Regions from separate parts of the Homo sapiens genome. Here all the other regions are linked to region 5. Evidence: promoter capture Hi-C in 16 types of primary human blood cells and fetal thymus (Javierre and others, 2016). All regions are on one chromosome and are shown on one strand. The core of a region is centred on a gene start or on the middle of the fragment in contact, and the rest is flanking DNA. Distances in the headings are between cores, read along the strand shown.

Region 1 (2,700 bases), core at 125-2,624, 440 kb before region 5:
ACAGGTTTATAGTTTCTATTACATTTGGAAAATTTGAGCAATATTTTTGTTTAATATTATTTCTGTCACTCCCCCACTTCTGCATCTTGTAATCCCATTATACCACTTTATATTGCCCTACAGGTCACTGAAACTCTGATCAGTTTTTTCAATCTTTTTTCTTTCTGTGCTTTTCTCTCTGGATAGTTTCTATTTCTATGCCTCCAAGTTCACTGATCTTTTCTTCTGTACTGCCTAAATTGTTGTTTAACCCTTTCAGTAATTTTTTTTTTTGAGACGGAGTCTTGCTCTGTCGCCCAGGTTGGAGTGCAGTGGCACGATCTCGGCTCACTGCAAGCTCTGCCTCCCGGGTTCACGCCATTCTCCTGCCTCAGCCTCCCGAGTAGCTGGGACTACAGGCGCCTGCCACCAGGCCCGGCTAACTTTTTGTATTTTTAGTAGAGACGGGGTTTCACCGTGTTAGCCAGGATGGTGTCGCTCTCCTGACCTCGTGATCTGCCCGCCTCGGCCTCCCAAAGTGCTGGGATTACAGGCATGAGCGACCGCAGCCGGCCAAATTTTGTATTTCAAACATTATATTTTCATCTCTGGGATTTCCATTTGGCGCTTATCTATATCTCCCATTTCTCTCTGCATTACATTCATTTTTCTTTTAAATACTTGAACATAGCTACAATAGTTGTTTTTGCTTTTGGGTTTTTTTTTGTTTTTTTTTTTTTTTGTTTTTTTTGCTAATTTCATTACCTCTGTCATTTCTGAATTTGATTTTTCTTCTAGTCATGGATCACTTCTTAAAATTAAAAAAAAAACTTCTTTGTATGTCTTGTAATTGTATTTTAGGACAGGGTCTTGCTATGTTGTCTAGGCTAGATTAGAACTCCCAGCTCAAGCAACCTTCCAGCTTCAGCCTCCTAAGTAGCTGGGAACAGGTGCACACAACCATTCTTGCCTACTCTGGTGATTTTTGATTGGATGCTGGACATTTCAACATTTGTTGAGTGCTCAATTTTGCTTTTTTCCTTTTAAATATGTTAGACTTTATTCTGGCAGACAATTTATTAGAAAATCAGTTTGATCTGTCTGAAGCTTGTTTTTAAGTTTTGTTATTGTAGGTCTAGAGTATCCTTTACTCTGGGACTAGGGTAGTCCTACAAGCAAGGTGTGGTGCTTCTGGGGTCTTTACTGAATGCCCCAGGTGCTTAATACAGTTTCTTCTTTCTGGCTGATCAGAACTCAAATGTCTCCTAGGTCTGGGTGAACTCTGGGAATTTTTCAGCTTGCAGCTACTGGTAATAACTTCCCAGGATTTTTGTGAGGATTAAATTAAATAATGCATATGAAGAGTATTGCAGGGGATTATGATTATGAAGAGATACATAAGGGGCTTCTGGGGTGCTGGCAATATATTTTTTGATCTGGGTGGTGGTTACATGTATGTTCACTTTATAACTATTTGTTAAACTGAATTTTTTATGTGTATGTTATACATCACAATAAAAATCAAAAGAAAACAAAGAATATAACATACTGCTGGCATATAGTAGATGCTCAATAAATGTAGCCAGCCTGATTACATGAGATAAGAGATGTAAAATAGCTGGCACAGAATCCAGCACACAGGGTTGGGGGAGAATCCTGGATAATTTCCTGTAAGTAAGCTTTTTATGGAAGTATAACCTAATAAAGAGAAATAAACAGAGCATAAGCACATAGCTCCATACATTTTTCCAAAACAGAACACACCCAAGTAACCAGTGACCAGGTCAAGAAATAGAACTTAATTGGTTCTTAATTGTTAATGTAAAACAATATGGAATGGGATTTTCCTGATGTCTCATAATTTTGGTTAAATTCTCAAAGCTGATAAGAATTCCTCTTTATTTCTAAAGAATGATTTTAGATATCCCCTCAAGGTTGTCTAAAAAATGGCAGAACTGGTCCTGTGACTGTCAGCCTCTGTCATCCACCTTCAGCCTCATAGAAGCCTAGGAGTTCTAAGGGTGCAAGAAGCATAGAAGCCTAGGAGTTCTAAGGGTGCAAGAAGCATAGAAGTCTAGGAGTTCTAAGCAAGCAATCTTACAGATAACAGATTGCTTGCCTAGGAGCAGGGTAGGAGATGTGCTCAAGTGATGGGCTGAGAAGGAATCACAGCCCCTGTGTTTCCATGGAGCCAGGGCTGAAAGCTAAGAGAGTTCTTGGGAAGCCTGACATGCAGACTTTGGAGTTTATGGGGTTGGGGAGGTGTTGTGGTTGAATGGTGTGGTGTTGGAGTTAGTTATACTAAACACAGAGGCCAATGTTTGCTTCCTACCTAGAAAACCATTAAGGCAAGAGGAAGGCTAGAGAAGACCATGATGGCATGGTAAGGAGTGAGAGCCACTGTTTGGTGGGGCAAAGTTATATGAATTTCCTGGCAGAGTGAACTCTGCAACAGGCAGTGAGATTTCAGCTCCCTCGACGGGGACCTCTGTCATAGGGCATCCATCTTCTTGAATTCTTTTTTTTTGAGATGGAGTCTTGTTCTGTCACCCAGGCTGGAGTGCAGTGGCGCCATCTTGGCTCACTGCAACCTCTGCCTCCTGGATTCAAGCAGTTCTCCTGCCTCAGCCTCCGGAGTAGCTGGGACTACAGGCACGCGCCACCACCCGCGCCACCACTCCCAGCTGATTTTTGTATTTTTAGTAGAGACGGGGTTTCACC
Region 2 (2,700 bases), core at 122-2,621, 320 kb before region 5:
GGTCCTTGAGAAAGACACCCCTGAGCTGTAGGCAACACATACATAGTAGCTCAGAGCAACAGAGGAAGGATTCACAATGGTAAGCCTCCTTTTTTTAGTAAATGCTCTAAAAAAGCAAGATCAGGGGCCTGTTGTCAGATGTTGGTGGAACAAACTCAATTCTTTTGACAGCCTTAAGCTTTCCCAGACAGCAACTCAAAAGGGGGCTGGGCCATCCCAGGGACGTGGCCTCAGGCTGCTAGAAGCCATGCGATGGTTTGGTGAAGTCTCTGAGCGCAGGGTATGAGTGGAGTGTTGGTACTGAGAGTTTCAGTGTCCCAGGTATACTTACCTTATGAAACAGATACAGTTAAAAGAACAGGTGTGCCCACCACCTGCGCTGCTGTTGGCAGCATTTTAAAAGAGAACTGACCATTTTCTACAATCCACCACAGGCCCACTGTGCGAGGCCAGGAGTGCCGAAGCCCCTTCTTCTAGAATCTGCTGAAGGCAACTAAAGAGAAAAATAGTACTAAAGCTTCTTTGACCCATACAGGCCAGAGCAGTGCTTTCAAACTTTCTTGAACATGTATCACAATAAGAAACACATTTTCTGTATTTCCTATTCTATTTTTTTCTTAAAATGCTGTTCACAAGCCACCAAATTAATTTCATCACCCACTAAATGGGTCACAGGTCACAACCCATATCTGAAAGGTACAAGGCTGGAGGGCACTGACCTGGGCAGACAGGGCAGGGGTGAGGGGAGATGAGGGTGGCAAAGCCTGGTGTATTAGTCCATTTTCATATGCTGTGAAGAAATACCCGAGACTAGGTAATTTATAAAGGAAAGAGGTTTAATGGACTCACAGTTCCACATGGCTGGGGAGGCCTCACAATCATGGCAGGAGGTGAAGGAGGAACAAAGACATGTCTTACATGGCAGCAGGAAGGAGTGCCTGTGCAGGGGAACTGCCCTTTATAAAACCATCAGATCTTGTGAGACTTACTCACTATCACGAGAACAGCACGGGAAAAACCTACCCCCATTATTCAATTACCTCCCACCAGGTCTCTCCCATGACACCTGAGGATTATGGAGCCACAATTCAAGATGAGATTTGGGTGGGGACACAGCCAAACCATATCATCTTGATTTAACAAAGCGGCAATACACAGAAGGCAGAGGGAAAACCTGACTGCGCAGAGAAATCTGTAAGTCTGGCCTTAGATAAACAGGATTTTTGTTGGTGAAATTCTGTTCTTTGTTTTTTTGTTAGTTTGTTTGTTTTGTTGAGTTTTTTGAGGTTTTTTTTTGAGTTTTTTGAGTTTTTTTGTTAGTTTGTTTTTTTGAGTTTGTTTGTTTTTTTCTGTCGCCCAGGCCGGAATGCAATGGTGAGATCTCAGCTCACTGCAACCTCCACCTCCTGGATTCAAGCAATTCTCCTACCTCGGCCTCCTGAGTAGCGGGGATTACAGGCACCTGCCACTACGCCCAGCTAATTTTTGTATTTTTAGTAGAGACAGGGTTTTGCCATGTTGGTCAGGCTGGTCTCGAACTCCTGGCCTCAGGTGATCCGCCTCCGCCTGCCTTGGCCTCCCAAAGTGCTGGGATTACAGACATGAGCCACTATGCCTGGCCGAAATTCTATTCTTTCATAGTAAAAATGTAGTAATAGGAGCATCTATTGAGTAATTTCCCTGAAACATGAGACCAAGCCAGAAATAGAAAAAAAAAAAAAAAAGAAAAAGATTAGGACAGTGACAAAACTAGTCTAGGAAGAAATGCTGAGGTTTTTAATTGTCAAAGTGCATTCTGGTAGAATGTCACATTCCGGGAAAAGGTCACTGGAGGAATCTGTAGGAAAAATGATGCCTTAGATTTTGTTCTGAGTTCTAAGTAGACATTAGTGAAAGAAGGAATGGGGTGAGTCTTTGTGAAACAATGCAACAAATATTCATTGAGCGCCTACTACGTGCCAGGCATGATTTCTGTCCATCTGTGAACAAAACAAAGCCTCTGCTCACATGAGCTAACATTCTAGTAGAGAGAGACAGGCAAGAATCAAACAAGCATATAATATAATGACAAGTAGAGATAAATGTCCAAAGAAAGTAACTCAGGGGAAGGGTGATGCATGCTACTTGAGCTAGGATGAACACAGCCAACCTTTCTGATAGAGACACTTAAACAGAGGCTTGAGTGAAGAGAGCATGAGAGGCCTGAGAGTATCTGGGGAAGCTTACTCCAGGCAGAGGGAAGAGCTAATGAGGCTCTGAGGTGGGAGGCTTCTGTGTATTTAAGGAACAGTCATGGCTGGGCACGGTGGCTCATGCCTGTAATCCCAGCACTTTGGCAGGCCAGGATGGGCAGGTCATTTGAGGTCAGGAGTTCGCGACCAGCTTGGCCAACATGGTGAAACCCTGTCTGAACTAAAAATACACAAAAATTTAGCTGGTCATTGTGGCATCCCTGTAGTCCCAGCTACTTGGGAGGCTGAGGCAGGAGGATCGCTTGAACATGGGAGGCAGAGCTTGTAGTGAGCCGAGATTGCGCCACTGCACTCCAGCCTGGGTGACGGAGTGAGACTCCATCTCAAAAATAAATAAATAAATAAGTAAGGAACAGTCAAGAGGCCTGTGTAGCCGGACTAAATTCAGAGCCATGGTAGGGAGTCTCAGAGGCCTGTGTAAGCACTTGGAATGTCATCAGAGTAAGGT
Region 3 (2,700 bases), core at 153-2,652, 280 kb before region 5:
ATATCTTAAAAATGAAAAAAAAAAGAGCAAGCTCTGCATATTAGTACCTGTGGGATATACCAATACAGTGCTTTTAAAAATTCAAAATAAAAGTAAATTAAATAATTCAGAAAAAATAGCAAGGTAAACCTAAGAAAAGCCGAAAGAAGGAATTCGTAAGAATAAAAGAAGAAAATAAAAAATAGAAATGGAAATGGGAATACTAATAAGAGATTTGAAAAAGGCAACAATAGGGTGGTTGGCTCAAGAAAGAAAGAGGAGCACATCAAAATACAAAATGATAAAGGGGAAATAACCATAGATACAGGAAAACTTAAAAGCATTGCATGATCAGTCAGTTCTACATAATAAATTTGAAAACTTGAATGAAATGGACAAGATTCCAAGAAAATATAATTTACCAAAACATTCCAGAGATAGAAATTCTAAGTAGACCAATTACCATAGAAGAAATAGATGTTGGCCGGGCGCGGTGGCTCACGCCTGTAATCCCAGCACTTTGAGAGGCCGAGGCGGGCAGATCACCCGAGGTCAGGAGTTTGAAACCAGCCTGACCAACATGGAGAAACCCTGTCTCTACTAAAAATACAAAATTAGCCGGGCGTGGTGGCACATGCCTGTAATCCCAGCTACTCGGGAGGCTGAGGCAGAATTGCTTGAACCCGGGAGGCGGAGGTTGCGGTGAGCCGAGATTGTGCCATTGCACTCCAGCCTGGGCAACAAGAGCGAAACTCGGTCTCAAAATAAAGGAAAAAAAGAAATAGATGTTATTAGAGAACTGCATTTCTCCATAGCTGAATCCACAGAAGCACCAGGCCCAAATTATTTCATAGGATAATTCTGTGAAAACTTAAGGAACAGAGAGTTGGTTGCTGTTGATTCTGCCTTAAGCACAGAAAAAAGAGGAAGCATTTCAAATTCTATTCATGAAGTGAGCATAACATTTATACCAAAGTCTCATAAAACACCCATACAGCATATACGTATACATTGACCATAGAAATTCTTACTCATGGCCGGGCGCGGTGGCTCACGCCTGTATCCTAGCACTTTGGGAGGCCAAGGCAGACAGATCACCTGAGGTCAGGAGTTCAAGACTAGCTTGGCCAACATGGTGAAACCCTGTCTCTACTAAAAATACAAAAATTAGCCAGGCTTGGTGGTGTGTGCCTGTAATCTCAGCTACCCAGGAGGCTGAAGCAGGAGAATCGCTGGAACTCGGGAGGTGGAGGCTGCAGTGAGCCAAGATCACACCACTGCACTCCAGCCTGGGAGACAGAGCAAGACTCCATCTCTAAAAAATTAAAAAAAAAAAAATTCATACTCATGAATATTACTGGAAAAATCCTAAATCAAATAAAAATTATAATAAAGTATTTCTATTTTACTAGAAATAGCTGGGTACAGTGGCTTGTGCCTGTAGTCCCAGCTACTTGTGAGGCTGAAGTGGGAGGATCCCTTGAGCCCAGGAGCTCTAGGCCAGCCTGGGCAATGTAGTGAGACCTCCCATCTCTAAACATCGTTATAAAGAAAAAGAAAAATTTGTCATCTCCAAAATGCAAAAAAGGTATTTGTTAAAATTCAACATACATTCTTGATTTTTAAAAAAACTTGTAAAATTCAGCAAATGATATTGACACAACTGGGTAGCCATCTAGAAAAAGTAAAGTTGGATCCCAACTCAAACTCATACCTCACATCAAAATAAATTCCAGATAAAGATTAAATGGAAAAAATGAAGTATAAGTGTACTTCATTAAATCCTCATACATTCTGTAGCACAGGAAATTTTATAAAGCAATACCCAAATGCCGTAAGAGAGAAAATGATACATTCAATTACTTAAAAAAATTTAAAAGCAGCAAAAGTACATAAACTAAAAGTGGCAGACAGCAATCTGGGTGAAAAATTGCAACTCATGTCACAGACGATGGACTAATTTCCCTAATACATGAGAAAGTACCTATAATTCAACAGTATTAGCAGCTCATTAGAAAAATCAACACAATATCAACAGTTCACAGAAAACACCAATACAGAATAAAAGGGCTCAATTTTATTCAAAATAAAAAAATATATTTCATTTTAGAAAATATAAGTTTTAAAATATACTGTAATTGAGGAAGTAGCAGGAAAACAGGCATTATTATACTTTGCTGATGGAAGCAGAAATTGGCAATAATGCTATGAAGAACAGTTTAACAATAAGTACCCAAATTGCAAATTTACAAACCTTTGACCTAGCAATTCTATTTCTAGGAATTTATCTTACAGGTGTACTCCTACATGCTGAAATGACGGGTGACTAAGGAAATTCATTTCTAAATTCATATAGCAAAGATAAGAGAGTTTAAATGCCCATCAGTGCAAAACTGATGAATTATAGGATAGCCATACATACAATGGGTTACTATGCAGTCATTGAAAATAATTGAAATTCTAGAGTTTCTGCATCATGTATACTGATATGGAATTATCTGTAAAATATACTGAAGGATAAAAAAAAGCAAGATACAGAAATGCATATATTATGCTATAAGTTTTATTTAAAAAATCAAAAGGAAACATAGACACGATTACTTACATGTATACACAGGTGTTTCCTCTGGGAAGGAAAATGTGGTGGCTCAGAGAAAGAAGTAGGAGAAATTCCTTTTCATTGTATACTCTTTTGACTCAAATTTTGTACCACATGCATGC
Region 4 (2,700 bases), core at 165-2,664, 470 kb before region 5:
GGCAACAACGTGTTCGCAGGACTTCCTGCGAACCACCCGGCAGATAACGCGACACTAGTTAAAGGGTGTTAATTTTCCGGTCCTCGGAGGGCAGGCCACGGTAGCCGATCTCTGCGTGCCCAGAACTGCCTGCAGGATCAGGCAGCAGCAGCGGCGGCGGCGGCCACCGAGGCTACCAGCCGCCCGCAGCAGGGGCGGGAGCGCGCGCCTCCCGCACCCGCGCCACCCGGCTCCACTCGGGCCGCAGCTGCAAAAGCAGCGACAGCGCGCGCTCCCGCGCGTCCTCCAGATCACCTTCAAGGGGGCGGGAAGAATGGCCCAGGGCAGGCCCACCTAGTGACAATAAAAACTCGCCAATAAAAACTCGAACTCTCCCTCGGGTACCGCCCACAAGCTGCCGCAGGCGCCCAATCCCCGCCGCGTTAACAGTCTTCACCCGGGGTGTCCAGAACTTGAGGGCGGGTCCATTAGGAACTAAATTAAGAAACTGAGTCCTGGAGTGGTAAGAAGGTGGGGAGGTTAGGCGGGGACTGCGCCGGCGGAACGCCCGCTCCCCCGCCCGCCCCGGCTCCCCGGGGACGGCCGCAGCGGGCCGGGTGTCGCGATCGTGGTAAACAAAGGCTCGCAGGGGACGGGGGCGGGGGTAACGGTCAGGTGACAGTGCCGAGTGCATTTCGCAATCGCTTTAATGGGGCTTCACGGGCCCGCGGCCCTGGGGACCCCACCTTGACCCCGTCATTCCTCCCGGACAGAACCGACGGTCGTCCCACCAAACAAGAAGGCTGGATTTGAGGCGGTCGCACTCCCCCGGGCTTCCTGAAATAAAAAGCAGCGCCCCGTTCGCAGCCCATCGGCAACAAGCAGCACCCGTCTGCCCAGCCGCCTCCCCCGGCGGCGCCCGGCCCCGCGGCGACTAGCCTACCGCACCTGCGGCTACCCCCAGTCCCGGCAACCACCCCGCCCTAGCCAGGCCGCACCAGCCGCGCCGCGGTTCCGGGCCGTAGTGCCAGGAGGCGCGCGCGCCCTCCCTCAGGGCTGTAGCTACCAAGCGGGGGAGGAAGACCCCCCAGGTGAACCCTGGAGGCCCCTCGCCTCAGAAAGGGGCCCTGTAGCCCAGCTGCAGCCTCTCCGCAGACCGCCAGTCTGGCTCTGAGAGGCCGGCCGCCGCTGGCTGCCCTCCCGCAGACACCCCGGTGGTCAGGACCGCCGTCGCCCCTCCGCCCCCGAGGACTCAGACTCTGACCGGTTCCTCGCCTTTCGGCCGGTCCCGGAGCTGTCACCCCCGGTACCTCTCGGCGAACACTGGAAGCAGCCAGCAGTGGCTAACCCCGCGGTCCCTCAGCGGCGGGCGGCGCAGCGCACTCTCCAGCGCCGGCGTCTCCTCCAGCCACCAGTCTCTGCCGCAGCTCACAACAAAGGAAACATGTGACCGTCCGGGCCAAAACACTGAGCGTCAGCGAACCCTGGCCAATCCGGGTGGGCGTCCTCCGCCCCGGGGAACCCTGGGAGATGTAGTTCACGCTTCCCGGTGGCCTCCGGGGCCACCTGGGGCTCCCGCCGTGGGGTGGGTGTCGGGTGCCCAAGAGGACGAGACCCACCCAAAGGGCTGCTGACTCAAAAACACCTTGTTTTAAGCAGAGACAGTTAAAAAAATGCCTCTTGTGTAAGGAGCCGAGTGAGAAGCCAGAGTCGTTTCTTTCCTTCCCTCAAAGGCCCCTGCCACGTCCCAAGGAAAAAGCCCGCGATCAGCCCTTCGACTTTAAAGCTTGGGTCGAAGCTTAGAGAGCTTTTTATTTGACCCTTTGATAGACAATCGGAAATCAGGCCTGAGGGCCTGCAGGGTGGACGAGACTAAAACCCCAGTCCTTAGAAGGAGCAAGGAAAACCACCTCTTTTTTTTTGATAAAGCTGTTACTGTCCCTGGTATCAAATCCTAGGTTACCTTTTTATTTTAAACGCACATGCACGTCGACCAAAGCTGTCACAAATCCCTGTTTTCCAAGGTAGATGGAGTTCCTAAAGGACATTGTGTTGTCGTTTTGTGTCTGCAAGCTTTTTGTTTTGTTTCGTTTTGAGACAGAGTTTCGCTCTGCCACTCAGGGTGGAGTGCAGTGGCGCAATCTCGGCCCACTGCAACCTCTGCCTCCCGGGTTCAGGCGATTCTCCCGCCTTAGCCTCCCGAGTAGCTGAGACTACAGGTGCCCGCCACCACGCCCAGGTAATGTTTTGTATTTTTAGTAGAGGCTGTGTTAGCCAGGCTGGTCTCGAACTTCTGGCCTCAAGTGATCCGCCTGCCTTGGCCTCCCACAGTGCTAGGATTACAGGCATGAGCCACTGCGCCCCGCCTGCAGGTATTCTTTTAAAGGATGATTGCAACCATTTAACTAGTTTTTGGTTTCTGATACCAAATTTAAAAATCTCTATCTTCTACATGTCATGAATACCGTCATGCCTCTATTAAATTAGGCGTTGTGTTCTGATGACCAGAGGCGGAAATAATATGGAAGGCCTATATACAGGCCTTTTAAACATACTTTTTAGGCCTCTTTTCCATCTCTTATTCAATTATTTGAGCTATTTCTTCTGGTATTTATATATTTCCAAATAATGTATGACTATTTCCTATTAAGGAAGCTATCCTTCTCATAATCTGGTTAAATCATTAATGTTTACGCTAATGAGACCATGTATTTATTATTC
Region 5 (2,700 bases), core at 155-2,654:
TACAAAAAATTAGCCGGACGTGGTGGCGCACATCTGTAATCCCAGCTACTGTGGAGGCTGAGGCAGGAGAATCGCCTGAACCCAAGTTTGCAGTGAGCCGAGATCACGCCATTGCCCTCCAGCCTGGGCGACAGAGTGAGACCCTGTCTCAAAAACAAAAACAAAAACAAACAAACAAAAACAAAGAAAGAAAAAGAAAAAAGAAAATAAAAAAACACACTGGGAGTGGGCATTATTATGTCCGTTTTACAGCTGAAGAATCCAAGGCTCCTAGAGGTTCCCCGACGCCGCACGCCGGGGAGTCGGCAGCGCGAGCTCCCAGCCAGACCTAGCGCCTCTGGGCTGTGCTCCTGTTGCTTCCCGCAAACCGCGGTCCTGGCGAGGCCTGGGCGTGGAGCGCGGCTGCCGCAGACTCCCTGGGAAGACATGGAGTCAGGGTGCTTAGGGGTTTTTAGGCTCCTGCTCGCCTAGTGGCTGGCTTTCTCCCGGCTGAGAAGCGTCTCTGGGTTCCCAGAAAGGTACCCGAGCTGTTAGAAAAGAGGAGACCCTGGGCCGGGCGCAGTGGCTCACGCCTGTAATCCCAACACTTTGGGAGGCCGAGGCGGGCGGATCACAAGGTCAGGAGATCGAGACCAGCCTGGCCAACAGGGTGAAACCCCGTCTCTACTAAAATACAAAAATTAGCTGGGCGTGGTGGCGGGCGCCTGTAACCCCAGCTACTCGGGAGGCTGCGGCAGGAGAATCGCTTGAACCAGGGCAGTGAGCCGAGATCCCGCCACTGCACTCCAGCCTGGCGACAGAGCGAGACTTTGTCTCAAAAAACAAAACAAAACAAAACAAAACAAAAGAAATAAAAAGAAAAGAAATAAAAGAGGAGACCCTGGCCGGGCTCGGTGGCTCACGTCTATAATCCCAGCACTTTGGGAGGTCGAGGCGGGCGAATCACGAGGTCAGGAGCTCGAGACCAGCCTGGCCAATATGGTGACACCCCGTCTCTACTAAAAATACAAAAATTAGCCGGGTGTGGTGGTGCATGCCTGTAATCCCAGCTACTCGGGAGGCTGAGGCAGAAGAATCGCTTGAACCCGGGAGGCAGAGGTTGTAGTGAGCCGAGATCGCGCCACTGCACTCCACCCTGGGCGACAGAGCGAGACTTCGTCTCAAAAAGAAAAGAAAAAGAAAGGAGGAGACCCAGGGTATGAGCGGAGGAGGCCGGCGCTGCCGGGACCACGCGCGTGCGGTAAACGGTCCCAGAGGCCCGGGCCCCGGCGGCTGCGCCGAGTCCCCGCCCCTCCCTGCTCCGTAGGGGTAGGAGGGGGCCGGCGGAGTTTCCCTCCCCGCCCAGCGGCCCTGGGCGGGCTTTTCGGCTGCTTCTCATAAGCAGGTGGTTTCGTTTCTCCGGCACAGGTAGGTTTCTCTGGCACCGATTCGGGGCCTGCCCGGACTTCGCCGCACGCTGCAGAACCTCGCCCAGCGCCCACCATGCCCCGGCAGCTCAGCGCGGCGGCCGCGCTCTTCGCGTCCCTGGCCGGTGAGTGGCCCTCAGCGCTTCCCGCGGTGGCCCTGACGTGTCGGTCCCCTTTCATCTAAACGCACTCTGGAGTCCCGGGCGCCACAGGACGGGCTGCGGGTAGGGAGGTGTGGCGCGTCCAAGGGCTTCCCAGCTGGAACTTGTTTTCCGTGAGTTACTCAGAGCAGGTGTCAACCCCAAAGACAGTGACACTGTCCCTCGCTTCCAAAAGGGTTCTGGACACCTTCTCAGGGAGAGTTTGTAGAGGTCACTCGGATTTAAGAGATGGAGACCTGAGCTAGGGTTTAGGAATGGGAGTCTTGGCTTTGTTATCCGGGAAAAGCGCTCCTGTCTTGCTTTTCCTTGCATCAGATGTGGTCTGACAGATTGTGCCATTTCAGAAAGGTGTAGGAAGAGTGTCAAAGACTTTTTTTTTTTTAAATGATCATTGTACTTCCCATCCCAGATGCCGTCTGGGACGCTGAGTTTATGATTATTTTATGATCCGACCCTCCGCTTTCTCCAGAGCTTTTCCCCCTAGACATTGAGTCCTCGGGTGCTGTGGTGTTGTCCCTGTGATGAAGTTTCCTGGTTACTCGAACGTCATGAGAGAACTGTCTCCGTCCCTACCGCCCGGCTAACATGCTCAAGCAGGGGGCGCGGTGGCCCTTGCTTGTAACATGAATGCTAGGAATGTTAGGGAAGAGGTGAGAAGGGTCGTGCCAGCTGCCCTTGCCTAGGCAGTTCTCCCCTGCGCCACACTTTCACACTTACAGTTTCAGGTTCTTTTAGGGGACAGAAGAGGAAGTCATCATCACGCTCCACAGGGCAAGCTATTAAAAAAGCAAAACAATCTCAGCCTAGCGGTAACCCACAGTGACCTGTATGTGAGCGCTCCTTGAATGGATGGATAGGCTCAGAAACACAATGGTATTGACAGGCCAGGCGTGGTGGCTCACACCTGCAATCCCAGCACTTTGGGAGGCTGAGGCCGGCGGATCACTTGAGGTCAGGAGTTCGAGACTAGCCTGGCCACCGGTGAAACCCCGCCTCTACTAAAAATACAGAAATTAGCCGGGCATGGTTGTGGGCGCCTGTAATCCCAGGTACTCGGGAGACTGAGGCAGGAGAATCACTTGAACCCAAGAGGCGGAGGTTGCAGTAAGCCAAGATCATGCCACTGCACTCCA
Region 6 (2,700 bases), core at 67-2,566, 390 kb before region 5:
TCACTTAATCTCTTTGAGGTTTATATTTTTTAAAAAACCACTCTTCTGTTTTTGTTTGTTTTTTACTGTTTGTTTTCACTGTATTTTTCTCTTTGTTTTTGTCTCTTTTATTCTATTTTATGTATGTATTTATTTATTTCCTAGAGACAAGGTCTCCCTATGTTGCCCAGATAGTTTCAAACTCCTGGGCTCAAGGGATCCTCCTGACCCGGCCTCCCAAAGTGCTAGGATTACAAGCATGAGCCACCACACCTGGCCTCTGTCTTTTATTTTAGAGGCTATACTTAAATATCTGGTAGTCTTTGGATATCTGTTCCTATTTAAGAGTCAAGCACTAACATGGTGAAACCCCATCTCTACTAAAAATACAAAAAATTAGCTGGGCGTGGTGGCACATGCCTGTAGTCCCAGCTACTCGGGAGGCTGAAGCAGGAGAATTGCTTGAATCTGGGAGGCGGAGGTTGCAGTGAGCCAAGATCATGCCACTGCACTCCAGCCGGGGCAACAGAGCAAGACTCAGGTGTCCCGACCTGACGAGTGCCATTCAAGTTGGATTTAGCCATGAAATAAGTTACAAAAAACTTTACATTTATCAGCACTTTGGGAATTTTGAAACTACAGATAAGGGATTATAGATATATAATGCTGAAATATTTACTATCATATTGGTTCTGATCCACAATATTGGAAAATATTAAAAGTGGAAAATATAGGGCCTGACCCTGGTGTTACAATCATTGGCTTCACTTGAGTTCTCAAGTGTACCCACTGTGGCAGCAGCAATCCTCAACACATTTGCTGTTAGCCAGATTTTTAATACAGACCTACATGGCCTTAACTCATTCTTGTTTTTCTTGGCACTTATTCTCTTTTTTAAAATTTGTTTAAATTTTACTTTAAGTTCTGGGATACATGTGCAGAATGCGCGGGTTTGTTACATAGGTATACACGTGCCATGGTGGTTTGCTGCACCTATCAACCCATCATCTAGGTTTTAGGCCCTGAATGCATTAAGTATTTTTCCTAATGCTCTCCCTCCCCTTGTCCCCCACCCGCCGACAGGCCACGGGTTGTGTTGTTCCCCTACCTGTGTCCATGTGTTCTCATTGTTCAACTCCCACTTATGAGTGAGAACATGCGGTGTTTGGTTTTCTGTTGCTGTGTTAGTTTGCTGAGAATGATGGTTTCCAGCTTCATCCATGTCCCTGCAAAGGACATGAACTCATTCCTTTTTATGGCTGCACAGTATTCCATGGTGTATATGTTCTTGGCACTTATTCTATCACCTGGGCTTTCTGACTCTTTTCTGACATCTTACCCCATTATGGAGACAAAGCTCAGGATTACAACATCTACATGTGGCTTAAGAGTAGTCTCTTGCCCCACTTTTCTGCCATGCAGTAATTGGTTAATATGTAATAATGATTAACAAGTGCATAGATTGTGCTCACAATAACCTTCCCATTCCTGGCCTTATGCCTGATTTTTGTAGCTGGCGGGTAAAGTCCTCTCAACATAGCCTCAAGGAACCAGACCTAGAGACTGCGGTACAAGACAGGAGTGAGACAGGAATCCAGACAAGGATTCCAGGCAGCAGCATCAACAAAGGAGATTGCTAATGACTCAGCCTCAGCCTGGAAGCTTTTCTATGCATGAAGGAAGGGCCAGTCATGAGACAGGGCAGAGAAAAGCCTGATAACCCCTCCCCTCATCACTAGGACTCCCCTCCCTCTGCCAACCCTGGGAATCACAGCAGGGCTGCCCTCACAGGTCACTGTCACTTACAGAGTGTGCCATATTTTGCAGTGAGCTGGGCTTCCCAAATGGTGAGAACCAGTTTCTGGTTCTAGCCACAGTGAGGTCCCATATATTTTCAGAGCGCACTGTCTTTTCACCTTGCACACCCTGACCCTGCTTCCTTGTCTCTTTTTTAACCCTTTGATCCAGACTGATGTCCTAAGGCATGCTGGGTCCTTGCTGCTATGGGGGTCTGTCAGCTCAGCCCCCAGACATAAACTGGAATGAATGTTCCAACAGTATCCTGCCTGTGCATGTGTGTATGAGCACAAGGAGGCTCTGATTTTTACATTTCCTCCTCATTTTCAGCTTATGTAGCCTACACTAGCAAAAGAGTCTTGGGGAGCTGAGGGGTCATAGGAAATGACCTGTTAGCCACATTTCTGTTCTCTGTGAAGAGGCCTGTTTTCAGTTTAGACATCATGGGGAAACCACTCTTCCCATCAAAGTGAGCTCCCCCAAGGATGAAATGGACACCATGCTATCTACTTGATATTATGAAGACTGAATGAAATAAAAAGAATCCAGCAAAGTGCCTGAAAAAATGTAGGCCGTCCATATTCCAAACTGGGAAAAAATGCTTAATGCAAAGATTACCACGTCACGTATAAAAACAAAATACTGGAAGCAACCTAAATGTCCACAGTGAGAGAATGATTTTCATATTATGCCTCTGTTGAAATTGGTAGCAATATAATAAATAGTCATTATGAAAAGCATGGAGCACCGTAGGAAAAATATTATAATGAAAACAGGGGGCAAAGCAAGATGCAAAATTGCATGTAAACTATGGAAAGATATGCATGTGAGAAAAGGTAGACAAATAACACCAAAATGAAAACTGTTAACATTATCAGAAAGCCCCATAATCCCTTACCCAAAAATCTGGGAGCCAGATGTGCT

The links. Contacts are between HindIII fragments. The CHiCAGO score rates a contact against its expected background, and 5 or more counts as called.
Region 1: a fragment that was not itself captured here is called in contact with the fragment with the promoter of LAMP3 in region 5 in 1 of 17 cell types (M2 macrophages); the score reaches 5.7 in M2 macrophages.
Region 2: a contact is called between a fragment that was not itself captured here and the fragment with the promoter of LAMP3 in region 5, in 1 of 17 cell types (M2 macrophages). The highest score is 5.1, in M2 macrophages.
Region 3: a contact is called between a fragment that was not itself captured here and the fragment with the promoter of LAMP3 in region 5, in 3 of 17 cell types (erythroblasts, M1 macrophages and M2 macrophages). The highest score is 8.0, in erythroblasts.
Region 4: the fragment with the promoter of KLHL24 here is called in contact with the fragment with the promoter of LAMP3 in region 5 in 1 of 17 cell types (activated CD4 T cells); the score reaches 5.3 in activated CD4 T cells.
Region 6: a contact is called between the fragment with the promoter of KLHL6-AS1 here and the fragment with the promoter of LAMP3 in region 5, in 15 of 17 cell types (fetal thymus, M1 macrophages, activated CD4 T cells and 12 more). The highest score is 12.7, in fetal thymus.

What each region holds. Positions count from the first base shown.
Region 1 is chr3:183,603,595-183,606,294 of GRCh38, reverse strand. No RefSeq gene overlaps it. Among named protein-coding and RNA genes, the nearest start is that of KLHL24, 31 kb to the left of the region's middle. The HindIII fragment of the contact is 572 bases long and covers 1,089-1,660 here.
Region 2 is chr3:183,482,893-183,485,592 of GRCh38, reverse strand. No RefSeq gene overlaps it. Among named protein-coding and RNA genes, the nearest start is that of SNORA63E, 30 kb to the right of the region's middle. The HindIII fragment of the contact is 1,704 bases long and covers 520-2,223 here.
Region 3 is chr3:183,444,418-183,447,117 of GRCh38, reverse strand. No RefSeq gene overlaps it. Among named protein-coding and RNA genes, the nearest start is that of SNHG33, 1.8 kb to the left of the region's middle. The HindIII fragment of the contact is 8,371 bases long and covers 1-2,700 here.
Region 4 is chr3:183,634,337-183,637,036 of GRCh38, reverse strand. It overlaps KLHL24 (kelch like family member 24), which reads right to left and starts at 1,414. Exons shown (of 8, transcript NM_017644.3): 1 at 1,244-1,414. LOC107986162 (a long non-coding RNA gene) reads left to right here and starts at 428. Exons shown (of 2, transcript XR_001741042.2): 1 at 428-502; 2 at 753-2,700. RefSeq lists silencers at 9-338, 389-708, 899-968, 979-1,088 and an enhancer at 1,509-1,568. The HindIII fragment of the contact is 5,143 bases long and covers 1-1,767 here.
Region 5 is chr3:183,161,438-183,164,137 of GRCh38, reverse strand. It overlaps LAMP3 (lysosomal associated membrane protein 3), which reads left to right and starts at 1,404. Exons shown (of 6, transcript NM_014398.4): 1 at 1,404-1,531. The coding sequence starts at 1,483. RefSeq lists a silencer at 1,194-1,403 and an enhancer at 2,016-2,225. The HindIII fragment of the contact is 7,998 bases long and covers 1-2,700 here.
Region 6 is chr3:183,547,351-183,550,050 of GRCh38, reverse strand. KLHL6-AS1 (KLHL6 antisense RNA 1) reads right to left here and starts at 1,316. Exons shown (of 2, transcript NR_046687.1): 1 at 1,088-1,316. All of the region lies in intron 1 of KLHL6 (kelch like family member 6), which reads left to right. The HindIII fragment of the contact is 1,687 bases long and covers 1-1,643 here.